Regions from separate parts of the Homo sapiens genome. Here region 1 is linked to region 2. The links are contacts of gene promoters, found by promoter capture Hi-C in blood cells and fetal thymus (Javierre and others, 2016). All regions are on one chromosome and are shown on one strand. Each heading gives the region's core, a stretch centred on a gene start or on the middle of the fragment in contact. The rest is flanking DNA. Distances are from core to core; before and after follow the strand shown. Region 1 overlaps LOC107984421 (a long non-coding RNA gene). Region 2 holds the start of ARAP1-AS2 (ARAP1 antisense RNA 2).

Region 1 (4,145 bases), core at 733-3,232, 110 kb after region 2:
CCACAGACCAGCCTGTCCTATCCTGATCAATATGAAGGTGTGAGGCAAACAGGCTCACTTTTGTACTATTTCAATTCTTTGCTATGTGCATGTGATTGGTTTTCCAATTTAAAAAATAGCTACTTTTTTTTTTTTTAAACTGAGTCTTGCTCTTTCGCCCAGGCTGGAGTGCAATGGCACGATCTCAGCTCACTGCCACTTCTGCCTCCCAGGTTCAAGTGATTCTCCCCGCTCAGCCTCCCAAGCAGCTAGGATTATAGGCACCTGCCACCACTCCCGGCTAATTTTTGTATTTTTAGTAGAGACGTGGTTTCACTATGTCGGCCAGGCTGGTCTCGAACTCCTGACTTCAGGTGATCCACCGCCTCGGACTCCCAAAGTGCTGGGATTACAGGCGTGAGCCACTATACCCAGCCAAAAAATAGCTACATTTTTTATTTCAAAACTTCTAAGCACTGGACCATGCAAACTTTGGTTTTTTCTTTTTGATACACAGCAACAGCAATTTATTTACGGATTACCTACTCAGTTGGTGCCAAGCCTGGTTCTAGATGCTGAAGACAGAGCCTAGATCAAGATTGACTTGGTCCTGGCTTTCCTGAAGTTCCCAGCCTGGTAGAAGAGACATAATAAACAACTAGCAAACACAGAAATGTGATTCTTTCTGGGAGTATTAGGTGCTCTGAAAGGAAGAACAAGGGTGATGTGATAGACGCTGATTGGGATGGGAGCTTTTTCAGATTGGATGACAGGAAAGGTCTTCTGAAATCTGCCTGGTATGTAGGAGCTAGCCTCTAAAAGTTGTGGAGGAAGAGCACTAGGAGAGGGGTGCAGCCAGGGCAAAGCCTCCAAGGTGGGGCTAAGCTTGGCAGTGGGATTTCAGTGCAGTGAATAAGGCTAAAGAGTAGGAAGAGGTAAGATCAGTGATGTGGGCAGGGGCCAGATCAAGCAGGGCCTTGAAGGCCATGGTAAAGGGTTTGGTATTTGCTTTGACTATGCTGGAGAGCCTTTCAAGGGTTTTAAGCAAGAGGAACTTGAGATGACTTAAGATTTTTGTTTTTGTTTTTGAGACAGTCTTGTTCTGTTGCTCAGGCTGGAGTGCAGTGGCGCAATCTTGGCTCACTGAAACCTCTGCTTCCTGGGTTCAAGTGATTCTCCTGCCTCAGCCTCCCAAGTAGCTGGGATTACAGGCGTGCGCCACCATGCCTGGATAATTTTTGTATTTTTAGTAGAGACGGGGTTTCTCCATGTTGGTCAGGCTGGTCTCAAAGTCCCGACCTCAGGTGATCTGCCCACCGTGGCCTCCCAAAGTGCTGGGATTACAGGTGTGAGACACCGTGCCTGGCCTGATTTAAGTTTTTGAACAATCACTCTGGCTTCTGGGAGATGCCTAACCCAGGTGCACTTTTTTTTTTTTTTTTTTTTTTTTTTTTGAGATGGAGTCTCGCTCTGTCACCAGGCTGGAGTGCAGTGGTGCGATCTCAGCTCATTGCAACCTCTGCCTCCCGGATTCAAGCAATTCTCTGCCTTAGCCTCCTGAGTAGTTGGGATTACAGACGCCCACCACCAAGCCTGGCTTTTTTTTGGGTATTTTTAGTAGAGATGGGGTTTCACTATGCTGGCCAGGCTGGTCTTGAACTCCTGACCTTGTGATCCACCTGCCTTGGCCTCCCAAAGTGCTGGGATTACAGGTGTGAGCCACCGTGTCTGGCCTCCCAGGTGCAAATTTTAAATTACATTTTAAGTACTTTAGGGCCAGGTGCAGTAGCTCATGCCTGTAATGCTAGCACTTGGGATGCCAAGGCAGGAGGATTGCTTGAGCCCAGGAATTAGAGACCAGCCTGGGCAACATAGTGAGACCTTGTCTTTACAAGAAAAATTTAAAATGAGCTGGGCGGCTGGGCACGGTGACTCACACCTGTAGTCCCAGCACTTTGGGAGGCTTGAGGCGGGTGGATCACTTGAGGTCAGGAGCTGGAGATCAGCCTGGCCAACATGGTGAAACCCTGTCTCTACTAAAAGTACAAAAATTAGCTGGGTGTGGTGACGCATGCCTGTAATCCCACCTATTCGGAAGGCGGATGCATGAGAATCGCTTGAACCCGGGAGGAGGCGGTTGCAATGAACCGAGATTGTGCCACTGCACTCCAGCCTGGGTAACAGAGACTCTGTCTCAAAAAACAAAACAAAACAAAACAACAACAAAACCAGCGATAGTGGCATGTGCCTGTAGTCTCAGCTACTCGGGAGACTGAGGTGGAAGAATCATTTAATCCCAGGAGGATGAGGCTGCAGTGAGCCATGATTGGGCCACTGCACTCCAGCCTGGGCAACAGAGAGAGACCCTGTCTCAAAAACAAAACAGAACAAAAAAAGTGAAGTACTTTAGGTCCCCAGATTATGGTATAACATTTTTTTATATTTATTGGTCAAATCATATATCTCTTACATAAATAATTTGAGATACATTAAACAGCAAGTTAAATGTAAAAAGCAGAAATTTGTCTCCATATATTATCTAAAATTTTATTTCAAGTGATCTTTATAATACAATCTTTCATATTCTAAAAATAGAACATGAATATTTTTAGTCAAAATCAATCACTTCTTTATCATATACTACTCAAAAATGACTATTTATTTAACATTTCCTAGGTGTATTTTGTGAGTCAAAAAAGGATTAGGAAACCCCTGCCCCAATATGGCTCCTTACCTGAGAGAAACGGCATCTCTGCACCTCACAGCCAGGCCAAGCCCTGTTAATATACTCTCCCATGCACACAGCCAGAGTTCCTTATTTATATAGTGTCTCCAAGCACCCAAGAGTCCGCCAGTTCTAAAGGGAATTCATCACTGTCATCAGCTGGCCCTGGGTCTCCATGGGTACTGTGCCTGTCTCCTGGGCATGGCTTTTGCTGAACGTTACCACCCATCTTCAACACAAATACTCCTTCAAGAGACAGGTCAGGCCTGGTTTGGGGCTAGAGGTACAGAGACATCTAGGACCCAGGTCCTGCCCTAAGGGGCACCGCACAGATTACAGGATGGTGTGATAACTGGTGACGGTTATAACTCGAACTCAACTGGGGCTGGTGTCTGAGAAGCTTGAACTCAGTGTAGGGGCAGGAAAGTTCTCCTGGAGGAGGTGATGCATGATTAGGAGCCAGGCCCCCTAGAGGCGACGATGTTCCAAACATCAGGCTCGGCCTGTGCAAAGGCCATGGGCGTCTAAGACAATGACATGTGGGGGACTGAGCCCAGCTCACTGGAAGCAGAGCAGGCTACACTGACCTGGGGGCGTCTAGGCCTTCACTGCTTTCTACGTCCTCTGACCCATCCCCATCAGAATCTCAACAGACTCGTCACCTCCAGGGCCTGCACTGCTCTCCCATCGTTGCCCAACTTCTCTCGTTCCCTAGGGATGTTCAAGTCTGCCAACACTCAGAGGGCAGGGCCTGCTGGCATGCCCCAGGGTGAGGCTGTGCCCAGCGAGTCCCTCCTTTCGTGTCTCACAGTAGCCTGAGCCTGCAGAGCTGGCTCTCTAGCATCTAGCTAGAGACGGTTTGACCACAGTTCCCTGCGACCCATGATTCACTTTCGAGGGTACCCACAAGAGATGTGTCTGCTCCTCCAGACGCCGCCCAATGGGGTGAAGCGTCTGGCCCTGAGTCAGGATGCTGGGGTGCTGGCCGTCTCAGCTACCCACTCCTTTGCAACCCCAGGCAAGCAAGCTCGTTCTCTCCTCCCGGCCAGGGGCTTTCTAGATGAAATCAGCTGCACCCCTTTACTCTCAGGGACCTAAAATTTCGGCGACCATGTGGAGCCGTAAACCCTTCTGCCTCCTGTCCTCCCAGCCCCGCACCCACCTGGCGTTTTCGTGTCACGGAACCTCTGCACGTGCTCTTCTCGAGGCCTAGAGTCCCTCTCTCCCTCTGGCCAACTCCTATTTCATCCCTCACAGACCCAACTCGAACGCCATCATCCCCGGAAAGCGGGGATTCCTCCCTTCAGTCTCTGCTTCCTTATCTTGCTGTCCTGCTGCGCCGCGCCCTCAGTGTACGCGCAGAGCCCGGGGCTGAGGGCCTCTGGGTCCCTGGCTGGGTGCGCGGCCAGGAGCGCGACGGCCTGGGAAGCACCAGCGGCTC
Region 2 (4,087 bases), core at 1,102-3,601:
GGGGGAGACAGCATCAGCCAACGGCACTGCCTGCCCCAATGCCCCAGCTCCTTGGCTTACAGGCACATGCCCTCTTCCCACCCAGCTGCCTTCTCTTCTCTTCCCCAAGGCAGAACCAAGCCCAGTGATGGAACTTGGGTACCATGCCCCACTTCATACCCACTCAGATGTGCCCGCCTCTGGAAAGCCTTCCCAGACACCTTCTGGAGGGCCCTTCTCTGGGCCCCCACAGCACCAAAGCATTCTTGCCCTCTGTTGTGGCACTGGTTACACTGCTGCTGCCGCCTGAACTACACCCGCAGGGGAGCTGTCTCCCCCACCCACATGGGTGCTACTGAAGAGCTAGGACTAAGCCTGGTTCATCTGGGTCCCAGGTCTCCGAGGGCTGACTCTCAGGAGGCGCACAAGACAACTGATCAACGGAGAAGTGAATGATAAAAAGTCACAGGCTCTCACAGCACAGGGGACCCCACAGGCACCTGGCTCTAGTCCCCGAGGCAGAGCTCTCCCGGTGGCCTCCCTGCCTCTTCCCTCCAGCCTCTGCTTGCTCGCCTCCAGGAACGAGGAGCACACCCCCTCTGGAGGCCGCACTGTCCATCCTAAGATGGCTCTGACTGTCATTCACTGTTAAACACTTATTGAGCACCTATGGAGTGCAAGGCCCACAGCCCTTCTTCTGCAGAGCTAGGATAGGTCTGACCAACTCCGCAGAGGGCTGCAGATTACAGTAGGCTCTTGGTGGGACAGGCCCGCTCCATGTCTGCTGCCCTGCATCTAGCTTCTGCTCTCTAGACGGGGGAGCTGGGATACATGGGATTGGCCAGGAGGCCCCACCTTCCCCAGTCAGACACCCTTACACCCACCCTGCTACCCCAGGCTCACCTTAGCAATACACTTGACCCACTCATGAGCCTGCTCCGCACTCTCCAGCCCAAACAGGTACAGCCGTTCTCCCTCCGTGTACACCTCAAAGGTGTGCTCAAAGCTGCAAATACACAGGCCAGGACTCAGGCCCACCTCATCCAGCACGGGCCCACCCCCAACCCGCACCATCAACCGCCATCCTCTGCCCCCTCCGCACTGCCTTGGCGCTTGTCCTTATTCTGGTCCCCTAAGAGGTGGTGGAAAAGTCTTGGGCTGGGGCCTCAAGAGACTGGAGTCGGCCCTTGTGCAGCCTCCGTTTGCTGTGTGACTCTGCGGAGGTCCTCCCCTTCTCTGGGTCTATTTCCCTGTCTCCCCAGTGGGGGATTGTACCTTATAGCAACCACAGTCTGATTTGCCCAGGAGTACTCACCCATGGGTGTCAGGAGGGGGCACTGCCAGGCACACAATCTCGCTGGCCCGAATCTCTCCATTGGGGGTCACTGCCCGCTCATTCTCAAAGTAGCTCAGGACCCCGTCACCAAGGACACACCAGCGCCGGCTGAACTCTGGGGAGAATTTGGGCAGGGGAGCCATCAGGGAGCCCCCCACCACCTGAAAACCACCTCTGCATCCTCCCGGGGCTCCTGCTCCCATCTGACCCATGAGCTCTTCATTCTCTCAAGTTTTCCCTAAATCCATCCACCTCTCTGCATCCCCACCACGCTAGCCAGCCCACAAGTCATCCGCTCCCCCAGGCCTCTGCAGCAGCCCCTTCCAAAATCCCAGAGTGATCTAGCTAAAATCAGACCCCATCCTTCCTCTAACCAAAACCATTCCATGGTCCTCAGGACAGACTCTGTGCCCCTCAGCCTGCCATTCAAGGCCCTGCCAGGTCTACCCCTGCCCGTCTCTCCAGCTGCCTCTCTGTCACTCCTGGACACACACATCCCTACCCAGCACTCCCAGCTTTTGCAAACCTTGTCCCCTCTACCCACCACCTGAATGTCACAGGAAGCCTTCTATGCCCCAACCTCCTTTTCCAGAAGCATCTATCACTCTGTACTCTGCCTCCTGCTACAATGGCTCTGAAGGACTGGCAAGGTCCCATAAAAGAAACAGAAATGGGAATCTGGACCAGGAAAGGTAATGGAAAGGATAGGCTGTCATGGCCATGCAGGCTTGTACCGTTCACAGCACTGAGCTTTACAGTGGCTCAGAGCTTCCTGGCATCCAGGGCAAAAAGGATGACTCAGGCAGTTGTTACATAAATGACATTGTCAGGCAGAGGGAGGCAGACCTGGGGCAATGAGGTTGTGAACAGCATGGAGTTCCAAAGAAATCTCTTTGGGAGTTGGAGGGCTTTGTCCCCGTAGGAAAGCATGCAGGAGGTGCTGAGGGATGTTGTCAGCAATGACCTCACAATGTTCCCACAGCAGACTCTGTCTCTCATCCTGTCTGTGAGGGCCTGACATGTGCTCTTTGAGAGCAATGTGTCCTCAGGCCTGTCCCCGCAGGTGGGCTCCCTCCAGGAGCACCAGCTCTGCCTGAGTCATCCTTCATTCTGCAGGTATTTGCCAAGTGCCCACTGTGTGCTAGCCACTGTTCTAGGATCTGGGGGCTACAGGCAGTGGTGGCCAAAAGGAGTTTATGTCCCAGTGGGGTACAGAGAATCTATAGATAAGTACATTAATGGACAAATGAGTACCAGGTAAGTGGTGTGAAGAAAATGCAGGGTAGCCAGGCGTGGTGACTCACGCCTGTAATCCCAGTACTTTGGGAGGCCAAGGCGGGCAGATCACCTGAGGTCGGGAGTTTGAGACCAACCTGACCAACATGGTGAAACCCCATCTCTACTAACTAAATTAGCCAGGCATGATGGCGCATGCCTGTAATCCCAGCTACTCGGGAGGCTGAGGCAGGAGAATTGCTTGAACCCGGGAGGCAGAGGTTGCGGTGAGCCAAGATCGCGCCATTGCACTCCAGCCTGGGCAACAAGAGCGAAACTCCATCTCAAAAGGGTAAAGGGAGAGATGGGGGGTGCTATTTTGCATAAGGTAGTCAGAGATGACATCTCTGCAGGAGTGATACTGAAACAGAGACCTGACGGAAGTGAGGGACTGGCCATGCAGATACCTGGGGGAATGCATTTCAGGCAGAGGGAACAGCACAGGCAAAGATCCTGGTAGGTGACGACGTGTCTGAGAAACAGTGAGGAGACCGGCAGAGTGATTAGGGGGGTGGTTCAGAGAGGTAATGGGGGTGGTGGCCAACTGTGCGGGCTCTTGTGGATTTTCTTCTGAGTTGGGGAGTGAATGGAAGGCTGAGATCAGATGGATAGGGCTTTCGTTCAGTCCTCAAACTCCCTACCAGCCACAGGCTCTTACTACCAGATGCTCAGCAGAGCCCATATCCAGTAGGGGCTCAATAAAGGCTCATTTAGTCCAAAGAAACTCTGGCACTGACCTGCTCTGCAGTGTCATGCACTACCCCCACTCCCACCAGGATCATTTAGGAAGTACCTACTGTGTACCACAGACTATATCCAGGAAGCCCTCTAGGGTGACTCTGCCAGAGTCCACCAGTCTGGCCAGCCCTGGCTTCCCTAGCCCTGCAGCCGTGACCAGATGCCATGGGCTAAAGCAGAGTCTGGGGTGGCACCCACCTTCCCGGGCCCGGCGGTCCTGTAGCAGCTTGCCGGCAGAGGCAGTCTTGTAGAGGAAGCCACTGTGGCTCACGGTCGGCAGGACAACTGAGTAGTGCTTTTCCAGGGGCTTCATCGAGTCCAGCCGAGGCACCTCTTTGTAGGCGGGGAAAGGATGGCAGGTCATGCTGGCCACCCAAGAGGGTGTCCCCACCTCACTCCCACCTGGCCTGGGCATTCAGGCTCACTTTCGAATCATCAGCCCCAGCTCCCTAACTGGCAGCCTCAAGCTCCCCCTCCTACCTGCAGGGTCTTGTCCAGGCTGTTTCTCCACCTCTCCCCACTTGTGGAAATTCACTCCACTCCCAAGGCCCAGTTCCAGCACCTCCCCTTCCAGGAAGCCTCCCTGATTCCTGCCCCACCCCACTCTCCAGGTTGGAGGCATAGGCCAGGCACACTGGCATGAGGGGGGCATTGGGCAAACTCAATAATAATCCCTGGAAAGAGGATTGTCCCAGACAGCGGGAAGCTCAAGGTGGCAGCCTGACTACAGCCCTGTTCCCCACGGTCAGCGCCGTGGGG

What was found. The method cuts DNA at HindIII sites, captures the fragments that hold promoters and counts their contacts. A CHiCAGO score of 5 or more calls a contact.
Region 1: a contact is called between a fragment that was not itself captured here and the fragment with the promoter of ARAP1-AS2 in region 2, in 5 of 17 cell types (megakaryocytes, M0 macrophages, M2 macrophages and 2 more). The highest score is 7.4, in megakaryocytes.

The regions. Positions count from the first base shown.
Region 1 is chr11:72,809,920-72,814,064 of GRCh38, forward strand. It overlaps LOC107984421 (a long non-coding RNA gene), which reads right to left. Exons shown (of 3, transcript XR_007062771.1): 1 at 2,714-4,145. Among named protein-coding and RNA genes, the nearest start is that of ATG16L2, 2.4 kb to the right of the region's middle. RefSeq lists enhancers at 2,755-2,814, 2,975-3,104 and silencers at 3,645-3,734, 4,135-4,145. The HindIII fragment of the contact is 2,240 bases long and covers 863-3,102 here.
Region 2 is chr11:72,698,123-72,702,209 of GRCh38, forward strand. It overlaps ARAP1-AS2 (ARAP1 antisense RNA 2), which reads left to right and starts at 2,352. Exons shown (of 2, transcript NR_146780.1): 1 at 2,352-2,431. ARAP1 (ArfGAP with RhoGAP domain, ankyrin repeat and PH domain 1) reads right to left here. Exons shown (of 35, transcript NM_001040118.3): 16 at 3,527-3,661; 17 at 1,295-1,430; 18 at 883-985. RefSeq lists a silencer at 2,898-2,997. The HindIII fragment of the contact is 37,247 bases long and covers 1-4,087 here.